4 separate regions of the Homo sapiens genome follow, and all the other regions are linked to region 4. The links are contacts of gene promoters, found by promoter capture Hi-C in human tissues and cell types (Jung and others, 2019). All regions are on one chromosome and are shown on one strand. The core of a region is centred on a gene start or on the middle of the fragment in contact, and the rest is flanking DNA. Distances in the headings are between cores, read along the strand shown.

The links. The method cuts DNA at HindIII sites, captures the fragments that hold promoters and counts their contacts. A contact is called where the count stands out against the background at its distance.
Region 1: a fragment that was not itself captured here is called in contact with the fragment with the promoter of ALOX12B in region 4 in 2 of the 25 tissues and cell types used here (lymphoblastoid cells and spleen).
Region 2: a fragment that was not itself captured here is called in contact with the fragment with the promoter of ALOX12B in region 4 in 1 of the 25 tissues and cell types used here (lymphoblastoid cells).
Region 3: the fragment with the promoter of ODF4 here is called in contact with the fragment with the promoter of ALOX12B in region 4 in 2 of the 25 tissues and cell types used here (lymphoblastoid cells and small bowel).

The regions. Positions count from the first base shown.
Region 1 is chr17:8,319,084-8,326,034 of GRCh38, forward strand. It overlaps ARHGEF15 (Rho guanine nucleotide exchange factor 15), which reads left to right. Exons shown (of 16, transcript NM_173728.4): 13 at 1-76; 14 at 229-311; 15 at 416-520; 16 at 1,759-3,428. The coding sequence ends at 1,910. Among named protein-coding and RNA genes, the nearest start is that of ARHGEF15, 12 kb to the left of the region's middle. The HindIII fragment of the contact is 6,503 bases long and covers 1-4,502 here.
Region 2 is chr17:7,936,466-7,943,455 of GRCh38, forward strand. It overlaps CNTROB (centrobin, centriole duplication and spindle assembly protein), which reads left to right. Exons shown (of 19, transcript NM_053051.5): 5 at 1-17; 6 at 236-352; 7 at 699-797; 8 at 3,048-3,284; 9 at 3,631-3,777; 10 at 6,926-6,990. Among named protein-coding and RNA genes, the nearest start is that of CNTROB, 7.8 kb to the left of the region's middle. The HindIII fragment of the contact is 4,478 bases long and covers 1,666-6,143 here.
Region 3 is chr17:8,334,868-8,341,799 of GRCh38, forward strand. ODF4 (outer dense fiber of sperm tails 4) reads left to right here and starts at 4,973. Exons shown (of 3, transcript NM_153007.5): 1 at 4,973-5,638. The coding sequence starts at 5,185. It overlaps LOC124903916 (a long non-coding RNA gene), which reads left to right and starts at 3,190. Exons shown (of 2, transcript XR_007065607.1): 1 at 3,190-3,424; 2 at 3,556-3,891. The HindIII fragment of the contact is 12,554 bases long and covers 2,366-6,932 here.
Region 4 is chr17:8,086,348-8,093,447 of GRCh38, forward strand. ALOX12B (arachidonate 12-lipoxygenase, 12R type) reads right to left here and starts at 1,369. Exons shown (of 15, transcript NM_001139.3): 1 at 949-1,369. The coding sequence starts at 1,095. It overlaps MIR4314 (microRNA 4314), which reads left to right and starts at 1,709; the gene lies at 1,709-1,800. RefSeq lists an enhancer at 397-1,145. The HindIII fragment of the contact is 32,393 bases long and covers 1-7,100 here.

The DNA of each region.
Region 1 (6,951 bases), core at 1-2,500, 230 kb after region 4:
CCCCTACCTTCCGCCTCTCCCTTCTCAGCAACCACCAGGGCCGCCCCACCCACCGACTACTCCAAGCTTCTTCCCTGTGAGTTGTGTTTCCCTCAGAAAACAACCTTGGGACACTTATCTGACCTCTCAGACCTCCCCCACTTCCCCAGTCTCTCTCTTCTGTGGCTCCTGCCTCAGCCCCAGAGGATCTTTTGGGCCAACTGTGACACTTCCCAATATCCCCACCAGATCAGACATGCAGCGCTGGCTGGGAGCCTTCCCAACCCCAGGCCCCCTTCCCTGCTCCCCAGACACCATCTATGAGGACTGTGGTGAGTATCCCCCTAGAGGGGATGAGGGAAGAAAAAGCGAGTCTTAGAGGAATATGGGGGAGAAGCTAAACAGAATCACTTTAATGTCACCCACCCCCAACCAGACTGTTCCCAGGAACTGTGTTCAGAGTCGTCTGCACCTGCCAAGACTGAAGGACGGAGTCTGGAGTCCAGGGCTGCCCCCAAACACCTGCACAAGACCCCTGAAGGTGAGAAAGTCTTTCATTTATTTATTTTGTATTTATTATTATTATTTTTTGAGACAGAGTCTCATTCTGTCAGCCAGGCTAGAGTGCAGTGGTGTGAGCTCGGCTCACTGCAACCTCTGCCTCCTGGGTTCAAGGGATTCTCCTGCCTCAACCTCCCAAGTAGCTGAGATTACAGGTGCCCACCACCACGTCTGGCTAATTTTTGTATTTTTAGTAGAGATGGGGTTTCACCATGTTGGCCAGGCTGGTCTCGAACTAACCTCAGGTGATCCGTCCCCTTTCACCTCCCAAAGTGCTGGGATTACAGGCATGAGCCTCTGGTGCCAGGCCTTATTTCTATTCTTTTTTTTTTTTAATGGAGGTGGGGGGTCTCACTATGTTGCTCAGGCTGGTCTTGAACTCCCGAGCTCAAGTGATCCTCCTGCCTCAGGCTCCCAAAGTGCTGGGATTACAGGCGTGAGCCACTGCGCCTGGCCGTGTTTCATTTATTCATTCAATAAATATTTATTAAGCACCTACAAAGTGCCACTCGCTGTTCTAGGGACTGTGAATCAAATATATCACACTTCCTTCCTTGCTGGAGCTACGTTCTAGCAGAGGAGGCAGACGATAAAGAATGAGCAAAATAGATAAGTAAATTATAAAGTACATGTGAAGGTTATGAGTGTTATGGAAAAAAAAAAAAGTGAGCAGAGCAAAGAAGGTCAGGAGTTCCAGGGTTGGGCAGACTGAAATTTTCAATAGGGAGGCCGAGGTGGACCTCACTGAGAAGGCAACATGAAGCTTGATGGAGCTAATTTAGGCCCATGGTGTCTGGGGGAAGAGTGTCCCAGCTGGAGGCAGCAGGCAGTGCAAAGGCCCTGCGGCTGGTGTGTGACTGAGGAACTGTAAGGAGGCCAGTGTGACTAGCAGGAGAGAGAAAGGGGGAGAAGCAAATGAGGTCATAGAAGTGGCAGGGATGGGATCACGCAGGACCTGACAGGTCTCTGCAAGGACTCCACCTCTTACTCCAAGAGACATGAGCAGCCACTGCAGGGCTTGACGGAAGAGCAGCCCAGACTCTCTCCGAGCTGCTGTCACCTCCACTTCTGATGCCCTTTCTACCGATGCTCCAGGCTTGTCCATGAATTCCCACACCTACAATGACCCTGAAGGCCTGAGACCCCACGAGGCCCCCTTTGCCTCCTCACCTGCTCCCTGCCCCCACCTCATTGGAGCCTCTGTCTCTCTTCCCCCAGGTTGGCTGAAGGGGCTTCCTGGGGCCTTCCCTGCCCAGCTGGTGTGTGAAGTCACAGGGGAACACGAAAGGAGGAGGCACCTTCGCCAGAACCAGAGGCTTCTCGAGGCTGTTGGATCTTCTTCAGGCACCCCCAATGCCCCCCCACCCTAATGCAGGCTGAGGAGGGGGCACATGTTGGGAGACACCTACCAGTGTGGCACGGAGAGAACAAAGCCCATTCATCCATTGGATTCACTGTCAGTGGAGATACTACCTCTCGTGGCAACCATAGAGATCGAGCTTCAGGACAGAGCAGCCAATGAAAACGGCCGCCTGAACCCACAGCAATAAGAATGAATGAGGATGCCTTGAATGTGTGGCCAATGGAGACAGAGGCTTAGTGCAGAGCAGCCAATGGGTACTGAGCTGGCTGAGCCTATGGCCAATGAGTATTCCTGCTATGCTCAGGGCCAAGGAAGACAAATCTAGGTCATGGCAGTTGAAAAAGGGCCTCATTGGAGATAAAGTCGTAGGATAAAATTGGGAACAGGAATGAGCAGGAAGCCAATCAGCCAAAGAAAATGGTGATCTGGACCCAAGAGACCAGTAGTCACCCTGCTTGTTTCTGCAGCAATGACTGGTCCTGTCTTTTGAGTCTGGGAAATACTAGTTTCCATTCCTGGATGCTTCCTGTGCCCTCTCAAGCCAGTTCTTCTCTTCCAGAAGAATTCAGAGTATGTGTCTCAGAAAATCTGTGTGTGTACATGTGCATGTGTAGATATGTGTGTATATGTATCAGGAAAGGCATTCTGCTGACTGTGGTGTGTGTGTGGTGATTGTGCTCCTGACCCACAAATGACTGAGTGCTCCATTTCTTCCTTTACCCCCCATTTTTCCTATTATTCGCTCCAAGAAAGATGCTAAGTCTGAGCTCCAGAAGAGACTGTGCTGGGTGTGGCTTGGCACCCAGGGGATGAGAGCCCTGAGCTTTGGGTCTCTTGGAGGCTAGGGTTCTGTGGCAGTTGCAGGGCAATGTTATGGAGCAGCCAACGGCCTGGCAGAGGAGCCCAAGGGACTGAAGATGGCCAGTAGCTGGGTCCTGAGGCCCCTGAAGTCTGCAGACCCTTCTCCTTGCCCCAAACACTGGCCTCCATAATTCCTGCCTGCAGATCTCCCAACTTGAACTATAATCCACCAGCCAGCCTCAGCCTTGAGCTTTGGAACCACATTAGATCCTGCATCTGGGTGAAGAAACGGGAGCTGTGGACCACAGGCCAGCCAGTGAACCTCCTGGGCTTTCTTGCCTTTGTCCTGATCCTCTCACAGAAACACTGGGCCAAACAGTGGGGAGAGATTGGAGAGCGGGTGTGGCTGCCCAACCCCATCCAGAGCATCTGCTTCCAGATGAGCCAGTGCCTCGCATGATACCAGAGGAGGCGAGGGACAGAGACAGCAAGGCAGACAGTGGCTGGCAGGGGGGCCCAGGCCCGGGACGAGGCCTCCCCTTCAGCTCAGGCACAGCAACTTGCCCAGGACTGACACTGTCACCCTGACTGCAGGAGGCACAGGGACTCCGGGAGACTCAGAGGGCGAAGAGCACTGGCATTTGGCATGTCCATGACATTGGAGACTCCCCTAGCAGGGTGCCTGACGTGTGGGGAACCCTCAGTAAATAGTGGTGCATTTGTATTGAGGCTCTCTGAGGAAGTGTGTGCTTATAGGAGCAGTGGTCTCCAAGCATGGTTTATAAGGGGATGGGGCTGCTTGGAAAGGGGTCCAGAGCAGGGGTCAATTCTGTTGGGAACTGGGGCTTGAAGGTCATGTGCTAGACCTGAGTGTGTTAGCCCACTCACAGTTCCTGAGGGATCTCAGGTGGTGGTGGTTGTGGCGATGGTGGTGGGTTTGCAACAGCTGTGGTTGGGGGCTGCTGCAGGCTGGGCAATGCCTGGGGCTTTGGCAGGGGATGAGAATGCAGCAAGAAGGATAAAAAGGGCAGTCAGGGCCGGGCACGGTGGCTTGCACCTGTAATCCCAGCACTTTGGGAGGCCGAGGTGGGCAGATCACTTGAGCTCAGGAGTTTGAGACCAGCCTGGGCAGCATAATGAAACCCTGTCTCTACAAAAAATACAAAATTACCCAGGTGTAGTGGCATGCGCCTATAGTCCCAGTTCCTCGGGAGGCTGAGGCAAGAGGATAGCTTCACCCTGGGAGGTCGAGGCTGCAACGTGCCATGTTCGCATCACCGCACTCCAGCTTGGGTGACAAAGCAAGACCTTGTCTCAAAAAAAAAAAAAAAAAAAAAAAAGGGCAGCGATAAAGGCCCTTTACTGACCAGCCAATCATCTCTGTGTTTAATTCAATTATACCTATTTATTGAGTGCCTTCTATGTGCCAGGCATTGTTCTAGGATCTGGGGATACAGATATGAAAAAGACAAAGTCCTTGCCCTCAGGAAGCCTTCATCCTGAGGGTGAGAGGTGACAGGGACAATTACCATGTCAACAAATTAATAAGTAAGATAAGATCAGGCCAGGCATGGTGGCTCACCCCTGTAATCCCAGCACTTTGGGAGGCTGAGGTGGGCGGATCTCTTGAGGTCAGGAGTTCAAGACCGGCCTGGCCAACATGGCTAAACCCTGTCTCTACTAAAAATACAAAAATTAGGCCGGGTGCAGTGGCTCATGCCTGTAATCTCAGCACTTTGAGAGGCCGAGGCGGGTGGATCACCTGAGGTCAGGAATTCGAGACCAGCCTGGCCAACATGGTGAAACACTGTCTCTACTAAAAATACAAAAATTAGCTGGGCATGGTGGTACATGCCTGTAAGTCCCAGCTACTCGGGAGGCTGAGGCAGGAAAATCCTTTGAACCTGGGAGGCAGAAGTTGCAGGAGGTTGCAGTGAGCCGAGATAGCGCCATTGCACTCCAGCCTGGGCGACAGGGCGAGATTCCATCTCATAAAAACAAAACAGGGGCCGGGTGCAGTGGCTCATGCCTGTAATCCCAGCGCTTTGGGAGGCCAAGGCGGGTGGATCACCTGAGGTTGGGAGTTTGAGACCAGCCTGACCAATATGGAGAAACCCCGTCTCTACTAAAAATACAAAATTAGCCGGGCATGGTGGCGCATGCCTGTAATCCCAGCTACTCGGGAGGCTGAGGCAGGAGAATCGCTTGAACCCGGGAGGCAGAGGTTGCAGTGAGCCGAGATGGCACCATTGCACTCCAGCCTGGGCAACAAGAGTGAAACTCCATCTCAAAAAACAAAACAAAACAAACCCTCCCCTCCCCAAAAAAAAACAGCACTAAGATAAAATCAGTAAGCAGTAAGCAGAAAATACAGCAAGGGCTGTGGCATAGAATGTTGTGTGTGTATGTTTTGGGGGAGGGTGGTGGCTTTAGGGCAGATCCTGGAAGAGATGACATTTGAACTGAGACCCAGATGACTTCCAGAGGAAGTAGCCCTGGGAAGATCTGGGGAAAGAGCATTCGAATGGAGGCAACAGGGGGCGATAGTCCAGGAACAGAAGGTAGTGGTAGTGGGGATGGGAATTGGTGCACGTGCCCCTTCAAGTGTCCTGGTAGGTGGAGCCCCTCCCCACCAAGGTCTCCCTCCCTCTTTGGCATAAGATGGAGACACACTGGGATACTCAGACAGACAGACATCCGGGGGCAGACGTGCCCCATACACCTTCTCTCCTGGCTCCTCATCCCTTACTGGAGTCCTGCCACTAAGGAAGCCCCCATGCTCCAATTCAGATGTTCTGATGGTGGGATAATGGGGAGATGCCGACCAGGTAAGGGTTATTTTGGGACATAAAGGTGTATAAAATACAACCATATGTTCCAAAAGAGACTGAGAAGACAGGAAGGGAGGGGACTGCCATGTTTCCTGACTTTTGGGGGTTGGATTCTGTTATCTCAGAGCCTGCTTTCCATTTTGGGGTGACCTGAGTGTGTTTGTCCTGGAGGGGTCTGCATTCTGCTGGCCTGTCTAAGGGGGCCGAAGGGCATGAAACACAGCTATATGGGAAAGGAACGGATGTGGGGGAATGAGGACTACAGCAAGGAGAGCGTGGATAGACAGAAGATGGGAATGGGGATGGGGTAAAGAGGACAGAAGAGGGAGGCTGATGGGGGGTGTTGCAGGACAGGTGGCAGGAGGTAACTCAGCTCATTCCAAATTGTCTCCCTCCCTCTCCCTCAGGCATCTCTGCTATGGGTGTCCAGTGTCCCCTCCCTTCTGTGTTCTTCCTGCCCCTCTGGGTTGCCTCCTGCAACTTCCTCATAGGTGGCGTAGGAGGGCCCATGGGAGAAACCTCTCAGCGGTGCCCTGTCTGCGTTCCAGGCATGCTGGTGGGGGTAGTACAGAGAGGTTCACTGAGTCAGCTGGGGAGTCCTAGAGCCACTATCACCTTATTCCCTCACAGTCTATCATGCTGGGGAGGTGGAAGAAACCAACATTTCCACAGGCTCAGGAAAGGTGCAGGCGTCCCCGGGGGGAGATGCCTGAGGCGACAGGGTGGGAAAGCTGGCCCCAGTTGGGGACCTTTCTCTGAGTCAGTGTGGACACTCTTCACCCGTGGCCCTGCTCCTCATAGCTGAAGCCTCCATATTCTGGGAGTCAATTGTCAACCTAAAAGGAAGAGGCTGAGGCACAAAATATGGTTGAAAGAGTTTACTTGAGCCCAAGGGGGCCGGGCATGGTGGCTCACGCCTGTAATCCCAACACTTTGGGAGGTCGAGGCAGGTGGATCACCTGAGGTCATGACTTTGAGACCAGCTTGGCCAACATGGTGAAACCCCGTCTCCACTAAAAATACAAAAAATTAGCCGGGTGTCGTGGTGCCCGCCTGTAATCCCAGCCACTCGGGAGGCTGAGGCAGGAGGATCCTTTGAACCCAGGAGACAGTGGTTGCAGTGAGCCAAGATCGCGTGATTGCACTCCAGCCTGGGTGACAAGAGCGAGACTCTGTCTCAAAAAACAAAAAACAAACGAAAGACAAAGGGAGGACGGCTGCCAGGAAGACTCAGACCCAAGTAACCTTGGATATGAGCTCCATTAGGGCTTTGTTACAAGCAGGTTTTCAAAGGCAAAAAAGGGGGACAGGGAGTGGGCTGTGGGCTGATACAAAGTTGTTAGGAATTCTCATTGGTTTAAAGGAAGCTCTTTGATTAGTGATTGGCTATATACTGTTAAGCTATAGGGGGTGGGT
Region 2 (6,990 bases), core at 2,655-5,154, 150 kb before region 4:
TTGAACAACTGGACAAGGTACCAGGGTAGCAAAATGTGGGTGGGTCTCTCCATGAAGAGCATTAAGGAATAATAAATAAGTGGGTGGCCAACCAATGTTTCTTGGTACATGCTGAGAGCTGGGCAAGGGGTTGGTTTGCTGACTGTTGGGAGAAGATGGCTGTTGACCCTGCCCCTGTGGGTAGAAAGAGGCAAAAAAGTTATTTTGAAATTTCATCTTACTTGCCCTACCTAAGACCCTGGCCCGTGTGGTGGAGGGCTGGAACCGGCATGAGGCTGAGCGGACAGAGGTTCTCAGGGGACTTCAAGAGGAACACCAGGCAGCAGAGCTCACCAGAAGCAAGCAGCAGGAGGTGAGCGCCCTGGAGCATATGGCATTAGAACCTGAGTCACAGATCTCAAGATGGAAAGGGGCAGAAATAGCTCTGGAATTAGGGTTTCCAACAGATTGACCTCAGTCTTGTAGTGGCTGTCCTGACATTTCTTCTCATCCCTCCTTTCTTCTCCTTTAACCGTTTCTGCTGTCCAACTTGAATCATCAATGTCTTAATTTTTCCCACACCATGTAGTCTTCTATCTGGCCCCTTAGTCATTTAGTTAACTGTGAAGTTTCAAGTTTACATTGTCAATGCTTTATAAAATATAGCACACACAGATTTCCCACAGTTCCTCTGCCCTGTATTCCTCTCTTCCTGAAAGACAGTAACCCGCCTGGAACAAAGCCTTTCTGAGGCCATGGAGGCCCTGAATCGTGAGCAGGAAAGTGCCAGACTGCAGCAACGGGAAAGAGAGACACTGGTGAGAAGATTGGACTGGGTTAATTCCACTGGAAGCTGTTAATTACTTCTAGAGAGCTGTGGGCTATTGGTGGATTGTGGGAGATTATAATTTGAGTTGCACCAGAGCACTGTTTCCCAAAGTGTGTTCCTTAGAACACTAATTCAGCTAGATATTCTATTAAAAAAAAAGGCTCTGCTACCAAGTCGGTTTGAGAAACTCTGCAAATTGTATCATCATTAGAATATTAGTGTCATCTGAAGAATTATTTTAAAATATAGGCTAGGCACGGTGGCTCACCCCTGTAATCCCAGCACTTTGGGAGGCCAAGGCAGGCAGATCATGAGGTCAGGAGTTTGAGACCAGCCTGGCCAGCATGGTGAAACCCCGTCTCTACTAAAAATACAAAAAACTAGCTGGACATGGTGGTGCATGCCTGTAGTCCCAGCGACTTGGGAGGCTGAGGCAGGAGAATTGCTTGAACCCAGCAGGCAGAGGTTGCAGTGAGCTGAGATCAAGCCACTGCACTCCAGCCTGGGTGACAGAGTGAGACTCCATCTCAAAAAATAAAAATAAAAAATAAAATAAAATAAAGATTTCTGGGACTCACCTGCAGAGGTTTTGATTCAGTAGATATATGGTGGAACTCAAATCTTTTCAGAAATTTCCTGGGTGATTTTTTTCAATCTGGTTTGGGACCTCTGGTGTAGGGCATGGCCAAAAAAGGTATGAAATTGACTAACTCAAGTTTCTTTTCGTGTTTTTTTTTTTTTTTTTTTGAGACAGGGTCGCGCTCTGTTGTCCAGGCTGGAGTGCAGTGGCACAATCTCAGCTCACTGCAGCCTCTGCCCCCTGGATTCTAGCGATTCTCCCACCTTAGCCTCCCAAGTAGCTGGGACTACAGGCGTATACCACCACGCCTAGCTAATTTTTGTATTTTTTTGGTAGAGACGGGGTTTCGCCATGTTGGCCAGGCTGGTCTCAAACTCCTGACCTCAAGTGATCTGCCCGCCTTGGCCTCCCAAAGTGCTGGGATTACAGGCATAAGCCACCATACCCAGCCACTTCACTCAAGTCTCTTAGAGCTGAAATGATAAGGTGATTAGCCATATGAATTAGTAGCTGGGATTGGAACTTGTTGCATGCATAATGCATGCTTGCTACATGCATGCTGGTACTTGTAGTCTTAACAGGCTATATCTGACAGTCCTGATGATGATGGGTGATGGTTCACGATTATAGGCTGGATATTCTAGTCTTAGTGGAATTTCTTTTGACGATGATGGTGGTAACTATTGTGTATTGAGTACTTACTATGTGCCTGATGCCGTGCTAAATGCCTTACATATGCTTTTTACTTTAATGCTCAGAAGGCAGACCCTGTTATGATCTCCAGTTTACAGATAAGAATGTATGCCTAAGAACACATAGTAAATTCCAGAACCAGGATTCGAACCTGAGATTTGAACCCAGGTCTACCTGGCTCTGGAACAGGAACTCTTATCTACTATATTATAATCCTATGAGCTTGTCAACTATTGTGTTTGTTTGTTTTGAGATGGAGTCTCGCTCTGTTGCCCAGGCTAGGGTTCAGTGGCACAATCTTGGCTCACTGCAACCTCCGCCTCCCAGGTTCAAGCAATTCTCCTGCCTCAGCCTCCTGAGTAGCTGGGAATACAGGTGTGCACCACCATGCCCAGCTAATTTTTATATTTTTAGTAGAGACATGGTTTCACCATGTTGGCCAGGCTGGTCCCAAACTCCTGACCTCAGATGATCTGCCTGCCTCAGCCTCCCAAAGTGCTGGGATTACAGGCATGAGCCACTGCGCCTGTCAACTATTGTGGGGTTTCTTTTGGTTTTATTTGAGATGGAGTCTTGCTCGATGTCGCCTAGGCTGGAGTGCAGTTGTGTGATCCCAGCTCACTGCAACCTCCACCTCCCAGGTTAGAGCGATTCTCCTGCCTTTGCCTCCCAAGTAGCTGGAATTACAGGCACCCACCACCACGCCTGGCTAATTTTTGTATTTTTAGTAGAGATGGGGTTTCACCATGTTGGACCAGGCTGGTCTCAAACTCCTGACCTCAGGTAATCTGCCTGCCTTGGCCTCCCAAAATGCTGGGATTACAGGTGTGAGCCACCGCACCCGGCCTAATTATTGTGTTTTTAATGAGCATAATTCTCAGCAGGCACCTTGTATGAGGGTCAGAGGGCAGATCGCTGGTCTCTGAAGAGCCTACTAAGGAGCTTGGTTTTCTTCTGCGGCTGTAGGAGGAGGAAAGGCAAGCTCTGACTCTGAGGTTGGAGGCAGAACAGCAGCGGTGCTGTGTCCTGCAGGAAGAGCGGGATGCAGCTCGGGCTGGGCAACTGAGTGAGCATCGAGAGTTGGAGACTCTTCGGGCTGCCCTAGAAGAAGAACGGCAGACCTGGGCCCAGCAAGAGCACCAGCTTAAGGAACACTACCAGGCGCTGCAGGAGGAGAGCCAGGCTCAGCTGGAAAGGGAGAAGGTAAAAGTGGCAGTTGGAAGAGCTGAGGAACTAGGGAGTAGATGAAGGGCAAAATAATTGAATGGGATGGAATGTTAGAATATGGGGGATACATATAGGCAGGAATGGAGAGTAGAGAGCCATGTGTGGGAGACAAGGTTGAGAGTATAGGGCCAGCAGGAAGGGCTGGGGGTAATGAATACGTGAAAGGCCAAAGACTGAAATTCAACAGGGATGGGGAAATAAAACAAATGGGAGGAGCTGGGGGAAGCTTGGATTTTAGGGTTTGGGAGGATGAACTGGGGAGTGTAGGTAACCAGGAGATAAGAAATGAGGTATGTATATACATTTGATTTGTCTTTCATAGGAGAAGAGCCAGAGGGAAGCCCAGGCCGCCTGGGAGACCCAGCACCAGTTGGCATTGGTGCAGTCTGAGGTGCGGCGGCTGGAAGGAGAGCTGGATACAGCTCGGAGAGAGAGAGATGCCCTGCAGCTGGAAATGAGCTTGGTGCAGGTCAGAAGGCAGAGGTTTCTTGAGGTTTTGTTCTGACAGAAGTAGATCTGAGGCAGAGGGACCTCTCAGGAGTTGTGGCAGACACTCCCAGTTCAGGTGTTTGGGGTTTAATTCCATTAACAGTTTCTATGTAGTATGGGTAGTTTTCTGTCCTAAACTCAGAGCTATTTCTTACTGAGTGACCATTTCCCACAATATGTCAGACTGACCTAGTGTTACTTTTAGGATTAAATAGATTTAAATCTATTAAAGATACCTTATGTTATTTTAAGAGATGACACCACACTTAGTGGGTTGACAGAGCAGGTGAAAGCTTTTGTCAGAGACTTGATTCCAATTGTAACAGTGTGCTTTGTAATTCTCATTACTTGAATAACTTGTATTAATTTCTCTGAGTAGGTCAGGGACCCAGGAGGGCAATGATTTTTTAATTTACTTATGAAACTTCCATAACAGCACATGGCCTGGCACAGAATTGTACTCAAAAATTGTTTGTCAGATATAATTACACTTTGAAAAACTCTTTCCATCTAGCTAACACACTGAATTTTAAATTCAAACTAGTCGGACTCTTGCCATGGAATAGAGCAGGAGTTGGCGAACTTTTTCTGTAAAGGGCCAGACAGTAAATATTTTTAGCTTTGTGGGTTGTATGGTCTCAGTTGCAACTACCCAACTCTGCTGTTATACCACAGAAGTAGCTATAAACTGTACGTAAACAAATGGGCACAGCTGTGTTCTAGTACAACTTATCTAAACAGGCAATGGAGGGCTGAATTGGGCTGTAGTTCGCCGATCTCCAGAATAGAGGAAAGGATTGGAGAGAGCTGTGTTCCAGCCCATGGGGGAGACACAGCGTTGAAGAGGAAAGAGTATTGCATTAGGACTTAGGGCACTTACGTCTACTTCTAGCTAGAATTTTGACCTTTATGGGCCTCTGTTTTTATGTATAAAATGTGTAAGGACAAATTGATGAATTTTCCAGGTGCAAGCCAGTCTGAGAGGCTATGTTCCTTATAAATGGTTAACTTAAGGAGGTACCAGTGAGGCCAGCATTTGAGAACCACAATCCTTTGGCCCGGTATGGTGGCTCATGCCTGTAATCCCAGCACTGTGGGAGGCCAAGGCGGGTGGATCACTTGAGCCCAGGAGTTTGAGACCAGCCCGGCCAACATGGTGAAACCCTGTCTCTACTAAAAATACAAAAATTATCCAGGTGTATGGTGCACACCTGTAGTCCCGGCTACTAAGAAGGCCGAGGCAGGAGAATCGCTTGAACCCGGGAGGTGGAGGTTGCAGTGAGCCCAGATTGAACCAGTGTACTCCAGCCTGGGCAACAGAGTGAGACTCCATCTCAAAAAAAAAAAAAAAAAAAGAATTGACCTAGGGCTTCAGGTGTTACAATGAGATCACATGCGATAAAGACTAAGAAAGCATCCGGGTGTGGTGGCTCGCACCTGGAATCCCAGCACTTTGGGAGGCCGAAACGGGCAGATTGCTTGAGCCCAGGAGTTCAAGACCAACCTGGGCGCAATATGGCAGTACCTAAACTCTGCTAAAAATACAAAAACTTAGCCGGGTATAGTGGCATGCACCTGTAGTCCCAGCTACTCGGGAGGCTGAGGTGGGAGGATCAACTGAACCCTGGAAGTAGAGGCTGCAGTGACCCGTGATCACACCACTGCACTCCAGCCTGGGTGACAGGAGCGAGACCGAGTCTCAAAAAAAAAAAAGACAGAAAGGGCCAGGTGTGGTGGCTCACGCCTGTAATCCCAGCACTTTGGGAGGCTGAAGTGGGAGGATTGCTTGAGTCCAAGAGTTTGAGACCAGTCTGGGCAACATAATGAGACCCCATCTCTACAAAAAATAAAAATATTAGCTGGGTGTTGTGGCACCAGCTTGTAGTCCCAGCTACTCTGGAGGCTGAGGTGGGAGGATCTCTTGAGTCTGGGAGGTCAAGACTGCAGTGAGCCATGATCACACCACTGCACTTTAGGCTAAGCAACAGAACAAGACTCTGTCTCAGAAGTAGGGGCTGAGAAATAACCACTATTTGGATTTAGAAATTGAGTTCTTTGGGCCATGCGCGGTGGCTCACACCTGTAATCTCTTTGGGAGACTGAGGCGGGTGGATCACGAGGTCAGGAGATTGAGACCATCCTGGCTAACACGGTGAAACCCCGTCTCTACTAAAAATACAAAAAATTAGCTGGGCGTGGTGGCACGCACCTGTAGTTGCAGCTACTTGGGAGGCTGATGCAGGAGAATTGCTTGAACCCGGGAGGCAGAGGTTGCAGTGAGCCGAGATCGCGCCACTGCACTCCAGCCTGGGTGACAGAGAGGGACTCCATCTCAAAAAAAAAAAAAAAAAAAAAAAAGAGGTTGAGTTCTTTATAGTAAAATACTATACGTGGAAATCAGATTTTAGTGAGTTGAAGGACTGTGGCTGAGAAAATGGAGACACTTATAGGTTGACTGCTTAAGGAGGAAGAGGCACTGCCATTTATTGAATGTCTACTGGCTTTCAGGTACTCTACTCAGGGTATTTTTTTTTTTTTTTTTTTTTTTTTTTTTTTTGAGACGGAGTCTCGCTGTGTCTCCCAGGTTGGAGTGCAGTGGCGCGATCTCGGCTCACTGCAAGCTCCGCCTCCCAGGTTCATGCCATTCTCCTGCCTCAGCCTCCCAAGTAGCTGGGACTACAGGCGCCCGCCAACACGCCCGGCTAATTTTTTGTATTTTTAGTAGAAACGGGGTTTCACCGTGTTAGCCAAGATGGTCTCGATCTCCTGACCTCGTGATCCGCCCGTCTCGGCCTCCCAAAGTGCTAGGATTACAGGCGTGAGCCACCGCGCCCAGCCTCAGGGTATGTTATATCAGACACGTAGAATGGATTTGATTGCTCTGTCGAACATTTATTTTAGCTAAGAAATTTATGTCTTTCACCCATAGTCATTTTCACTTTGATGTATGTTTAAAGTGCGAATATCTTAATAAGGAAAGGGAACCTCTTTCACTCCTTGAGGCAAAATTCTTGTTCTTCATCTCATATGAGGGGAAAGTTGGTACTGGATTTTGTCTACATTATATCCTCCATCCTCTTCTAAGCCCAAACAGATTTGGGCCGTTATCCCACCTTCCTTCACTCCAGGCCCGGTATGAAAGCCAGCGGATCCAGCTGGAGTCGGAGCTGGCTGTGCAGCTGGAGCAGCGGGT
Region 3 (6,932 bases), core at 3,723-6,222, 250 kb after region 4:
TGATGTAGGACATGTGTTAGAGATATCCCAACCTAGGAGCAAGGAAGCTAGGAAATTTGTCAATTCTCCCTGTGTTACTAGTGGATGGCTTCCCTTCAGCTCTCTTCTCCTCCTTCCACCTTTCAGTCTCCGTCTTCTAGGCTTTTGCTTGTGCAACATCAAGGCCAATGACAGTTACATTTACTTTTGTGGCTATAATTAAGTCTTCCTTGCTTTGTCCATCTGTTGATTCTAAGAGTTGAAAGGCAATGAACAGTGTTTACCTTATACATTGTGACTATATAAATATCTTTTGTTGCAGAGCTAGTAATCACTTAGATTACATTTCCTTTCTTGAACTATTTGTAATTACCTTCTGAAAGACAATGTTTGATACATTCACAAGATATTATGAAATCTATGTTAGCTGTAAATGATTATAATATAATAAATACCTGGCCAGGCACAGTGGCTTGTGCGTGTAATCCCAGCACGAGCTGTAATCCCAGGCCAAGGCAGGAAGATCGCTTGAGCCCAGGTGCACCACCACACCTGTAGTCCCAGCTACTTGGGAGGCTGAAGTGGGAGGATTGCTTGAGCTCAGGAGTTCAGCTATGATAGTGTCACTGCACTCCAGCCTAGGTGACAGAGCGAGATTTGTCTCAAAAAAAAAAAAAAAAAAAAAAAAAAAAAAAGAATATGCCTGCACCTATCACCCAACTCAGGAACTAGACTCTTATTAATAATGCATATGTGCTCGTGTAACATTCCTCATCTCACTCCTATGCCTTCTTGAGAAGTAACCATCATATGATATTTCATGTTTACTGTGCCACTGCTTTTTAAAAACTACCATGCAATCATAAGCTTACATAAGCTTAAACAATGCATTGGTTGTTGAGCTTGGTTATAGGCTCTATAAAAATGGCATCATATGTACTGTGTAGTCTTCTGGGGGTTACATTTTTCAGGAAACATTCTATTTCCAAGATTCTTCTGTGTTGTGTGTTGCTGTGAGAAATGCTTATTATTAAAAACCCTTAGAAACTCCAGGAAAAAGCTGGGTGCAGTGGCTGATGCCTGTAATCCCAGCACTTTGGGAGGCCGAGGCGGGTGAATCACGAGGTCAGGAGTTTGAGACCCACCTGGCCAACGTGGTGAAAGCCCGTCTCTACTAAAAATACAAAAAATTAGCTGGGCGTGGTGGCGGGCACCTGTAATCCCAGCTACTTGGGAGGCTGAGGCAGGACAATTGCTTGAACCGGTGGGGGCACAGGTTGCAGTGAGCTGAGATCACACCACTGCACTCCAGCCTGGGGGACAGAGTGAGACTCCGTCTCAAAAAAAAAAAAAAAAAAAAAGAAACTCCAGGAAAAACTTAAAAACTAAAGAGGATTCGAGGGAGGAAGCCCAATCCTGACGACACTGGCTCTGTGTAAATGACATTCCCAGCAGGCCCACCACCCCCTCTCCCAGTGTTCTCCCCTCCTTCTCCCATCTTCAAGATTCTGTCTTCTGGCTGGGTGTGGTGGCTCATGCCTGTAATCCCAGCACTTTGGGAGGCCGAGGCGGGCAGATCACGAGGTCAGGAGATCGAGACCATCCTAGCTAACACGGTGAAACCCCATCTCTACTAAAAATACAAAAAATTAGCCAGGCGTGGTGGTGGGCACCTGTAGTCCCAGCTACTCGGGAGGCTGAGGCAGGAGAATGGCATGAACCCGGGAGGCGGAGCTTGCACCACTGCACTCCAGCCTGGACGACAGAGTGAGACCCTGTCTCAAAAAAAAAAAAAAAAAAGATTCTGTCTTCTGACCCAGTGCCCCAACTGTAGCTGCTTGTTCTAAGGATGACACTCGTCCCTGGCAGGGCCAGAGAATGCTTGGACTTGGGACTGAGAGGTCTCCCCTCCAGCAGCTGGAGGGGTCTGATACACAGCTTGGAGTGTGAGGGCCATGTTTCCCACCATGTGGACCAGAGCAGAGGAAGAGGCTGGTCTGCAGAGACAGAGGAAGACGCCCAGGGAGGGGCAGAGACCACAGCCAGAAGAAGCGCCCTCACAGGCTTTGAATTTCAACTTTCAACCATTCCTGAGGTCCCACTGCACAGGTGACATCAGGATTCATAGTTCACTCTCCTTTTGCTTACAAGGAGAGTTAATTTGGAGAGTTAATCTGTTCCATGATTTGCAGATGCCACTGACTGGCAAGGATGCTTGCCAGGAATTATCTTCTGCATTTTTGCTCTTTCCCTGTTTGCTAGTGAAAGACTGTAAAAACAATTAAAATGATAATTTAACAACATAATTACCAGTTGCTGGGAATTTACTATGAACTAGTGAGTGCTTTTTGATCATTATCTCATTCAGCACTCTTACCAAGTCTATGAGAAAAATATTGTTCCTGTGTTACAGATGAGTAAACTGAGGCATAAGGAAGCTATATGACATCCAGGTTCACAGGGCTATTAAGAGGAAGACCCGGCTGCATGTGGTGGCACACACCTGTAATCCCAAGACTTTGGGAGGCTGAGACAGGTGGATCACCTGAGGTCAGGAGTTTGAGACCGGCCTGACTGACATGGTGAAATCCTGTCTCTACAAAATACAAAACATTAGCTGGGCGTGGTGGCTCATTCCTGTAATCCCAGCTACTTGGGAGGCTGAGGCAGGAGAATTGCTTGAACCCAGGAGGCGGAAGTTGCAGTTAGCTGACCAAGATGGCGCCATTGCACTCTAGCCTGGGCAACAAGAGTGAAATCCCATCTCAAAAAAAAAAAAAAAAAAAGGCGGGGAAGACCCATTTTTCATACCTTTGCCTGTTGGACCCCAAAGCCTATGTTCTTTTTTTTTAGACAGAGACTCCTTCTGGCCTGAGTGATGAAGGAAGACTGTCTCAATAAATAAATACATAAATAAATAAAATTATAACAATCTCAGAAGGCATGACACCTCTAGGACCCATTCTCATCCTACATCCTCCTCTTTCTGGTGCTGAGAAAAAAAAGAAAGGAAAAAGAAAAGTCAAAAGAAGAGGGAAGGAACTGGTGGTGATTGACTAGCAGTGAGTAGAGCTGGGAGGGAGGTGAAGGGTTGGGGAAAGCAATGGGAAGCTCGATGACATCTTTGCAAGACATGTCCAAAGAACAATGGAGGGAGGATCTTTTCCTGGGGATAAGCTCCTGCTCCCTCCCCCTGCTCCATCAGTGAGCATTTGGGGTTGGGGTTAGGGCAGAGGAACTAGGAAGAGAAAAGGGGACTGTCCTAGTCCATTTTGTGTTGCTATAACAGAATACCTGAGGGTGAATAATTTATAAAGAAAAAAGGGCTATTTGGCTCACAATTCTGATGGCCAGAAAGCTCAAGATTGGGCATCTGTTGAGGACGTCAGGCTGCTTTCACTTATGGTGGAGGCAAGGGGGAGCTGGCTTGTGCAGAGATCACAAGGTAAGGGAGGAGCTGAAACTGTGCCCCAAACAGTTAAATAAACCAGTGATTAACAGACATTTTCGAGTTTACAGGATGGCAGCTAAGAAACAGCTTGCTGAAATGCTGAAAAATCCCTTTGCTTATAACAGGACTGGCTGAAATCAGTGGGAACCCGTATGGCTGACAGCAATCCGCACAGAACGAGCTTGCTGATGTCACAGCCTGAATTTCCACCTGCTGTTTCATACTAACGCCACCAAATTTGCACATGCAACCCACGAAGAACCTTGGAGATAACCAGACATGATTAAGGACTTTCTAGACTTCTCCTTTCTTTCCACCAATCACCCGCTAATCCCAGAATCCTCCCCCTAAACCTTTTCTAATAAAAGTACTGCCTTAAGACCAGCAAAGAGAGACAGATTTGAGCTGGATTCCCGTATCCTCGTGGGTCAGCTCACAATAAAGCTTTCCTTTTCTCAAAACCTAGTGCCCTAGTATTGGAGTATTGGCTTCTATGCACATCTGGCAGCGAGCACTTTTGCTTGGTAACAGCGCCAGGTTCTTTTTAACAACCAGCTATTGCGGGGAGCTAATGGAGTGAGGTCTCAGGGAAGGCGTTAATCCAATCACAAGGCATCTGCCCCCATGACCCAAACACCACCCACTAGGCCCTCTCACCTCCCATCACCACCACACTGGGGAGCAAATTTCAGCATGAGGTTTGGTGAAGACAAATTAACCATATGCAGACCACAGGAGGGCCTCTCACATACCATTGCTCATATGTAAAGGGAGGCAGAAGCTGGAGGGAGGTGTCAGATCCACAGTTCTGAGCTGTGGCCTGAGAAACAGGATTTCCGGAAAGAGTTAGAGCTGGAGCCACAGGCCAGGCAAGGTGGCTCACACCTGTAATCCCAGTGCTTTGGGAGGCCAAGTGGGGAGGATCTCATGAGGCCAGGAGTTTTTTTTTTTTTTTTTTGAGGCTGAGTTTCACTCTTGTTGCCCAGGCTGGAGTGCAATGGTGCGATCTCGGCTCACCGCAACCTCCGCCTCCCAGGTTCAAGCAATTCTCCTGCCTCAGCCTCCTGAGTAGCTGGGACTACAGGCATGTGCTACCACGCCCAGCTAATTTTGTATTTTTAGTAGAGATGGGGTTTCTCCATGTTGGTCAAGATGGTCTCGAACTCCCGACCTCAGGTGATCCACCCACCTCGGCCTCCCAAAGTGCAGTGATTACAGGCGTGAGCCACCGTGCCTGGCAGAGGCCAGGAGTTTGAGACCAGGCTGGGTAACATATCAAGACCCCATCTCTACAAACAATTGAAAAATTAGCCAGGCATGCTGGCACAATCCTGTAATCCCAGCTACTCAGGAGGCTGAGGTGGGAGGATCACTTGAACCCAGGAGTTCAAGGTTGCAGTGAGCCAAGGTTGTGCCACTGCATCCCAGCCTGGGCAATAGAGGGAGACCCTGTCTCTCTCTCTAAAAAAAAAAAAAAAAAAAAAAAAAATTGCTGAAGACTTGGCTTCCCTCCCCCATCTCACTGTGCCCCAGGAAAATTCCGTGGCAGTTAGGGGACCTGGCCTGCTGAATGGGTTGGGGCCTTCTCTTGGATCAAGAGTCTCTTATTTGATCGAGGTCTGTTATTAGACTTCCTCATTCTTTCTCAGACCTCAGGCTGCATGGTGGCAGCTGATGAAAATATCCAAAAGATGAGAAGAGACAATTGAGTCTGGTGAGGGAAAGGGGAGACAGAGGGTGAAGTGGTGCTCAAGATGGATGCAGAGTACTCTGGGAATGAGTTCCCCAGGTCAGAAGGAGAAAGAGACCAACATCAGAGACCTGGAAAGGAAAGGAAGAGTGGGGAGGCAGGATGGGGCACAGGTGAGCTGGGACAAGATGGGAGACTGCTGTCCTCCACCCTCTCCCTCAGTAGTAACAGGTCCTTGGGCCAGCGCCAGAACTCTCCGCTGCCCTTTCAATGGAGAATCACACACAGCTTCCGCTGGATGGCCCAGGTGTTGGCCTCTGAGCTCAGCCTGGTTGCCTTTATCCTACTATTGGTCGTGGCCTTCTCCAAGAAATGGCTGGACCTCTCTAGGAGCCTCTTCTACCAGCGCTGGCCCGTGGATGTCAGCAACAGAATCCACACATCAGCCCACGTTATGTCCATGGGGCTCCTGCACTTTTACAAATCCAGGAGCTGTTCTGACTTAGAGAATGGGAAAGGTGAGCCCCTCCACCCCCCATCCCAGCCCAGGCCGCCAGCCTGTCTTGGCCTCTGTATCTGCACCCTGGATGTATTCTTGTTCCCTCTTTCTGGTCATCTTTACTTTTTGGCCTGCAAGATGGTTCCACTGGCACTGAGACCTCCGATGATCGTTTCTCATCCTGTAGCCTGGCTAAATAGATTTGATTGGTGCAATGGAAAATGTCACTGCTTTTGATAAAACCCAGAGCCAAATCTGTGCTTCTAAGAATGCTGTGAGAGAGTTGGGCATGGTGCTGCACACCTGTAGTCTCAGCTATCCAGGAGGCTGAGGTGGGAGGATTGCTTGGGCCCAAGAATTTGAGTCCAGCCTGGGCAATTTAGTGAGACTCCTGTCTCAAAAAAAAAAAAAAAAAAATCAGGCTGGGCACTGCGTCTCACACCTGTAATCCCAGCACTTTGGGAGGCCAAAGCAGGCAGATCACCTAAGGTTGGGAGATCGAGACCATCCTGGCTAACATAGTGAAACCCCGTCTCTACTAAAAATACAAAAAATTAGCCAGGCGTGGTGGCACATGCCCGTAATCCCAGCTACTCTGGAGACTGAGGCAGGAGAATTGCTTGAACCCGGGAGGTGGAGGTTGCGGTGAGCCGAGACCGCACCATTGCACTCCAGCCTGGGCAACAAGAGTAAAACTCTGTCTCAAAAAAAAAAAAAAGTTACGAGGGGCATGGACTCAGCACAAGAGAATCATTCATTAATCGCCTAATTTACCAGGGACAAGAGCCCCAGTGAGATGGGGGTTTCCTTAGTCTTGTGTACCCAGAGCTTTGAGAGGACTCCTTGCAATGTCCCCTCTCAGGCCCTGATCCCACACATTCTCCTTTCCTTCTGCCTCAGGCCTTGCTTTTCTGGATCATTTTCCTTTTTCCACATCTGGCTTCTGTGTTCCTTCTTTCCCTGAATTCTTGCAGCTGCTTCATTCCTCATCCTTGTTTTTTTCTGTTTGTTTCGCTGATTTTTTTAGAGACAAGGTCTCACTCTGTCACCCAGGCTGGAGTACAGTGGTGCAATCATAGCTCACTGCAGCCTCGAACTTCCAGGCTCAAGGGATCCTCCTGCTTTAACTTCCGGAGAAGCTCAGACTACAGGCCGTGGCCACCACACCTGGTTCTTATTGTTGTTAGTCTCTGGTTATGCTGTTCCCTCACCCCTCAGGAATTTGGAGTTCTTTCCCTGCTCCTGGGGAAAACCAGAGCTTTTGACCCTTATTTCCATTTTTTCACTCTCCTTAGCATGAAAAAAATCACACA
Region 4 (7,100 bases), core at 119-2,618:
GGACAGGATATTGACCTGATCATTGAGCTTCCTTCTGACTTCTCCAGCTTGGGGGTCTCCTACTGGATTCCTCTACCCAGGGCTATGTAGGACTCCAGCCCCTCCTTCTCTCCATCCCCAGCTCCTGTCTTCTCCCACTCCCCTCTCCAGGCACCTGAGGTTGCAGGAACCCTTCAGACCCCTGGGGACTTGGGTACCACTCTACAGTTTTCGAGTGGGGAGAGGCCCAGCCAGCCCCTTCTCCCATTCATCAATGAAGATGCAGATATTCAGAATGGCCACATAGATAGAGTGACCTATTAAGGTCGCCTAGCAGCAGGTGGCTGGGTCTGACTGAAAATCAGGTCTGAGGACCCGCAAAGCGTGCCTTCCACTGGACAGGCTGGTCTGATGCCATTTTAAGTCACAGAGAATCCAGTGCAAATGTGAGACAGTTAGGAGGCAGCTGAATTAGGAAGAGTGACTGAGAATGGAAGAGAGAGGGATGCGGGAGAGGGGGTAAGACAGAAAGGGGAGGAGAGCAAAGGGGAAGGAAAGCAGGTGGAAAGGATTGAGAAAAGAGAGATGCAGGATAGGCAGAGACAGGGAGAGAGGGCTGAGGAAGAGGGAGAGAGAAGAAAAGGATGGGGAGGGAGATGAGGAATGCCTGAAAGGGTTAGAGATGAAGGAGCAGGATGGAGAAGGATGGCCCAGAGATCTGGGACATGGGCGAGGGGCTGGAAGCCAGCTCTGGACAAGGCGTGTAGAGCCACTGGGGAGCCCACTGCCTTCGGAGCTGTGCCTCAGCTCTCCAGCCTCTCCTCGCCAAGCTCAGCTCACCTGGCTCCCCCTGCGCACCTTCACCCCTCCCGGGGCCACAAAGACACACAGACACACACAGACACACACAGACACACACACACACACACACAGACACACACACACACACACACACACACACACTCTTACCGCCCCAGTTGCAAAGTCTCTCCCAAAGTGGTTCAGCAGCTGCTTATGGCTCTCTCCTTGTGTCCCCACAATGGTCAGTGAGATGGAGTCCCGTGTTCCCGACAAGAGGTCGGTGCCTGTGGCCACCCTGACTTTGTAGGTGGCCATGGCTGCTCTTCAGGAGGCAAGAGGGGCACTCAGTCCCAGACACCGTGGAGGGGCCACACGAAGGCCCAAGGCAGGCAAGAGAAGCCAGGCACAGAGTGGAGTGGACAGGGCTGGCCTCCGAGGTGCAGTGGTGAGGTGGCGAGGTGGGGTGACTAGGCCTGCCAGCCAAATTCTGGAAAAGCTGCTGCCCTTGGTGGCCGGGGTGGGTGCCGGGCAGGCCCAGGCGGAGCCCAGCTGGTGGTGAGTGAGCAGGTGTCTGGGCTCCAAGCCTTCTGGGAGCTGGTGGGGAGGAAGAGCAGGCAGGGCACTGGGCCTGCCTCTGAAAGGGCGGATAGAAGATGCCGTGGATGAAGGCGCCTTCAGGGTGGGGGAGCCAGTCCAGCCTGAGCCAGGGCCCTAGGGAAGTTGCGGGAGGGGGCAGGGTGTGGTCCCCAGATCTTTATCAGACTAATAAGCTCCTTCCTCCTGCCAGTCCCCATTGGCTACAGTGCCAGGCACCCCTACTAAGCAGGGCCATGGGCAGTGAGTGACTTGCATTGGTTCTGAGGCCACTGGTGGGCGGGGGAGGGGAGGGGGAGGGGCACTAAGTGGCAGCGCAGCTGGCCAGCCTCCAGGCCATTCCTCTCTGGGAAATGGGACAGGTAGTGGCCACAGTGAGAAAGCTGGCCTGTCCTTCTGCCCCAGGGCCCAGAGTCTGTGACTGGAAGGGTGGGAGGTGTTGAAGCTAGGGCTCGGGGACCACATGGGTGCCCAAAGGCCTGAAGATGCTGCGGGGAGGAACGATCAGGGTAGGAGAAGGGGATCTGTTGCTTCCTGTGGGGCCAGGATCCACTGGTGAGGGATTGGAGTTGGATATAAAATCAGAAGCCCAAAAAAAAAAAAAAAAAAACTAAATTAGAAGACAGAGTGAAATCTGGGGCATAAGAATTAAGTTAAATAGCTGGGCGTGGTGGCTCACGCCTGTAATCCCAGCACTTTAGAAAGCCAAGGCAGGTGGGTCACCTGAGCTCAAGAGTTCGAGACCAGCCTGGCCAACATGGTGAAACCTTGTCTCTACTAAAAATACAAAAATTAGCCAGGCGTGGTGGCATGCGCCTGTAGTCCCAGCTACTTGGGAGGCTGAGGCAGGAGAATCGCTTGAACTCAGGAGGCGGAAGTTGCAGTGAGTTGAGATCGTGCCACCGCACTCCAGCCTGGGCAACAGAGCAAGACTCCGTCTCCAAAAAAAAAAGACAAAAGAATTAAGTTAAATAATGGATTAATATGATCAATATTTTGTGGTATAATCATAAAATAGAATTCTACCCAGGAATAAAAAGAATGAACTGCAATGCGGATGAGTCTCACAAAGATGATACTGAGCAAAAAGAGCCAGACATTAAAGGGGATACGTTCTGTTATCCATTGATAGGAACTTCCAGAACCAGCAAAACTGAGCAATTCTCAGACAACCTCTACTGGTGAGTATCCCTGGCAGAGGGAGGCCATATAGGCTGCTGGAGGTGTTCTTATCTTGATCTGAGGGGCGTCTAGGGTACTTCATTCATTTCATTATGTGTTATCCTTTAATTTCATAAAGTACATACCCTCACTTCCCTCCCAAAAAAGAATGAAGCTAGGAAGAGGGCTGGAGGCAGGGCTGAGCTCCAGTGGAACTGTGTTTGTTGGGAACCAGGTCGTTCCTCCCTCAGATATGTAGTGAGCACGGTGCACGGCGTTCTAGGCACTGCAGAGGCAGAGAAGAAATGAAACATACATGGAGCTTACGGAATAGCTGGGAAAGAAGTGAAAGAAACAGTAAACAAGAATTTGTTCACTATAATTTTGGATACTAAGTGCTCTGAAGAAAATAAGCGTGGGAGGTTGGGATTGGGAACTAGTTGCTGATAGAATCACAGAAGTCAGAGCCGCAGGATAGGGAGAAGGTGTTAGGAGTAAGGTGAAGAGCATTATGAGAGAGTCAGAGATAGACTCTCCAAAGATAGGATTTGGGACCCAGGGAGAGTGAGGAGGCAGGCACGTTCCTATTCCCTTTTTCTGGACCTGTCCTCTTTCCTTTCACCTCCGAGGAGCAGCTTCTGTCAACCAGGAAGCATAGCCCTGCTTTCCTCCCTGATGGCACGCTTCCATCACCATCGAAGGAAGGTCATTCAATGCCCAGGCCAAGTTAGGGTCAGAGGGGGCTGGGATTGTGAGATGAAGAGAAGGTTCCAGTAGGTTCCAGACTGGATGTGGAATGGGGTCGAAACTGCAATTCAGGTTTAGGTTAGAGACACAGATGTGGCTGGAGTTGGGGATTGAAATGATCTTTTCCAGACCCAAATCTGTTCACATCACTCTCTATGTTCCCTCCTCCCAACCCTGATCAAGCCTGGCAGTGGCTCCTCTTTACCTTTGGGACAGTGACACCATCCCCTCCCGTGGCCCCCACGGCCTGCCTGATTGGCTTCACCCCTCACATTCCCCTTTGCTCTCTTCTGTCTGGGACCACGTGCCTTTCATTCATTCATCAACAGACACTGGCCGAACCCCTACTGTGTGTTCAGCGCTGTGTCAGGTCCTGAAAATACAATGCGATCAAAGCAAACCCCTGCACCCATGGAGCTTGCCTTCAAGTGAGGGAAGCAGACAATATTACCTAGTAACCAAATACATTAAATAGTATGTTAAATAGTGATAAGTGCTGAAGAGAAAAGAGAGAACAGGGAAGGATAATATAAAAAATAGAGGAGTGCCGGGCATGGTGGCTCATGCCTGTAATCCCAGCACTTTGGGAGGCTGAGGTGGGCGGATCACCTGAGGTCAGGAGTTCGGGACCAGCCTGACCAACATGGAGTAACCCCGTCTCTACTAAAAATAAAAATTAGCCGGGCATGGTGGCGCATGCCTGTAATCCCAGCTACTCGGGGGCTGAGGCAGGAGAATAGCTTGAACCCAGGAAGCAGAGGTTGCAGTGAGCCAAGGTCATGCCATTGCTATCAAGCCTGGGCAACAAAAGCGAAAATCCATCTCAGAAAAAAGAAAAGGAGGATATTTTAGATACAGAGTGGCCAAGGAGGGCTCCTTGGGAAGAAGACTTTTGAGTAAAGACCTGAAGGAAGTGAAGTCAGCTCGTCACCATCCCAGGGCCTTGGCACATGCTGTTCCCTCTCTACCTCTCAAACTGAGGTCACGTTTCCTCTTCCTCCTGATCTTAGCTCAATAATTGCTTTTTCCAGGAAAGCCAAATTTCACTATACATGGCTCTCACAGCACTATAGCTAACATCTTTGATTGATGTCTGTTTTCTCTAATAAATTAGTCCATACTTTTTTTTGGTTTTGTCCCCATCTCCTGGTGTCATACTTGGTACCTGGGAGACACCGAAAACATAGTTGAATGGGTTAATGACAAGGACAAGGTCAGGGCTGGGGATTGAATCGATGATGGCTTTGGAGTTATGGTGAAGATCCGAAGAGAGCTGACTTGGGCTCAGGGTGAGAGAAGGGGCAAGGCGTGGTGTAGGGGAGGGAAAGGGGTTGGGTGGGGAGGGAGGGAGGAGAGGGGAGAAGGCTGAGGATGAGGGTTGTGCCCAGCTCTGGGTGGCAGGGCTGGCTGTCCTGGGCTGCAGACAGAAGCCGTCCAGCTGGATCTCCCCCCTGGGATCTCCCTCCTCAACCACCTCGATGACTCTTGGAGGATGCTGGGAGCCTGAAGATGCAAATCTTAAGATGCAAATTCCATGCAAATTCTCCCAGCTTCCTCTTTCTAATCTCTCCCCTTTGCCCTGTGTCCCCAGGGGGCTGCTGAGGCTTGGTGAGAAGCAGGGCAGTGGACTGGGCAAACTGAGTCATATCCTGCTACCAATAGGTCTCCTCCAACCCAAATCCCAGGGTGGCCCTGGGTTTGCTCAGGGCTCCAGTGTGGAGTGGGAATTAGGTTCCTGAGGGAGACGGAGATGGAGGCAGGGATGCTGAGGATGTCAATGTGGCTGGGGCAGGGACAGGGACGGGATCAGGCATGAGGATGTAGATGGGGCACTCCCCAGCTATGACCAAAACGTAGACGCGTGACTCTTGATAGGTGCTCATTGGGCTGAAGAACTGGTTCTCCTGGACCAGGGGCGGGAGCCAGTGAGGAGGAGAGGTTTCTGGGAAGGATTCACACTCACTGGGGTTGCTAACTAGGGGCCATCCACACAGGAAGCTGAGTTCTCACTGCTGGGGTATCCCCCGTGCCTGACCCCACCCCAAGCCCTGCAAGGCAAGGAGCAACTAACTCCTGGGGACCCACTCTCCTAAGACACAGAGAAAGAAAAATCAAATCACGCCACTCCCCTGCTTAAAGTTCACCAGAGCTTAAAATGGGGTTGTCCGTAGAAATGAATCCAAGGGCCAGGCGCGGTGGCTCATGCCCATAATCCCAGCACTTTGGGAGGCCAACACAGGCGGATCATGAGGTCGGGAGTTCAAGACCAGCCTGACCAACATGGTAAAACCCCGTCTCTACTAAAAATACAAAAATTAGCCGGGCGTTGTGGCACGCGCCTGTAATCCCAGCTATTCAGGAGGCTGAGACGGGAGAATCGCTTGAACAGGGGAGGTGGAGATTGCAGTAAGCCAAGATAGCGCCACTGCACTCCAGCCTGGGCAATAGAGAGAGACTCCGTCTCAAAAAAAAAAAAAAAGAAAGAAAGAAAGAAAGAAAAGAGACGAATCCAAGGACTTATCATGTCTACAAGACCATGCCTTCCCGACACCTTTTTCCAGCCACTCTGGCCTTCTTGCTGTACCCAGAACATGTGTCCTTCAGGACCCTTGCATTTGCCATTCCTGGGTTTGTAATACCCTTCCCCCAAGCTGTTCAAGCTGTTTCAACCAAGCTGTTCAAGCTGTTTCAAGAGTGGTTTTGTTTGTTTGTTTGTTTGTTTGTTTGTTTTGAGACGGTGTCTCACTCTGTCACCTAGGCTGGAGTGCAGTGGTGCAATCTCAGCTCACTGCAACCTCCACCTCTCAGGCTCAAGCGATCCTCCCACCTTGGTCTCCCGAGTAGCTGGGACCACAGGCGTAGTCCACCTGGCTAATTTTTTGTATCTTTTGGTAGAGATGGGATTTTGCCACGTGGCCGGGACTGGTCTCAAACTCCTGAGCTCAAGCGATTTGCCTGTCTCAGCCTCCCAAAGTGCTGGGATTACAGGAGTGAGCCACCGCACCCGACCCTAAGCGTGTGTTGTTCATGTCATCCAGGTCTCAACTCTAGTGTCACCTCCTCAGAGTCCCTCCCTGACCACCGTCCCTCATGTTTCCCCGCCCTCCGCCCTCCATCATGCTACCCTGCCACCTGGTTGTATCTCCAACTGCACTTGCCACCGCCCAAAAGGATCTTTATCTGTTTATTGATGCGTTTATTGTCTGTCTCTCCAGCACCCATAAGAAGGGTGAAAGAAGGGGTTGTGCCTGGGGAGCTCACAGCTGCTCTCCCAAAATCTAGAACAGCATCTAGGCAGACAAGAGCCACGAAGCAAAGCGATGCTAGGATGTCAACGCTGGAAAGGGCTTTTCAGGTCTTCTCGTCCCACTCATGTATCTGACAGGTTGGGACCACTGAGGCCGAGGGACTTGCTCAAGATCAGCTGGGGAAGGAGGCTGGTGTGCTTCCCATTATACCAGTTGACCTTTTAGACTGACCAAAAAACAGTGGAGGGCAGAGTGTAAGCTGAGGGGAGCTCCTGACCTCACAGGGCTCCAGAAACTTGATGTGAGCCTCCTCCCCATGTCCTGTCCCCAGAGTCAGGGCAGGACATCCTAAGTGTACCAGGTGTGTCTGCCCAATAAATCTCTTTCCAAGCTGCCTTTCTGGAAAACCAGATTCCAATGACCCGCCCTGGTCCCTCCCTCTCCGGCTCAGGGGCATTTTTCAGGATAGGCATGCCTACTAATGCTGCCTTTGTGGAGGCCCAAGGAGTGTTCATCCTCTTGGGGGACAGGGTGCCTGAGCATGCCCATGCCCTTTTCACTGCTGCTTCC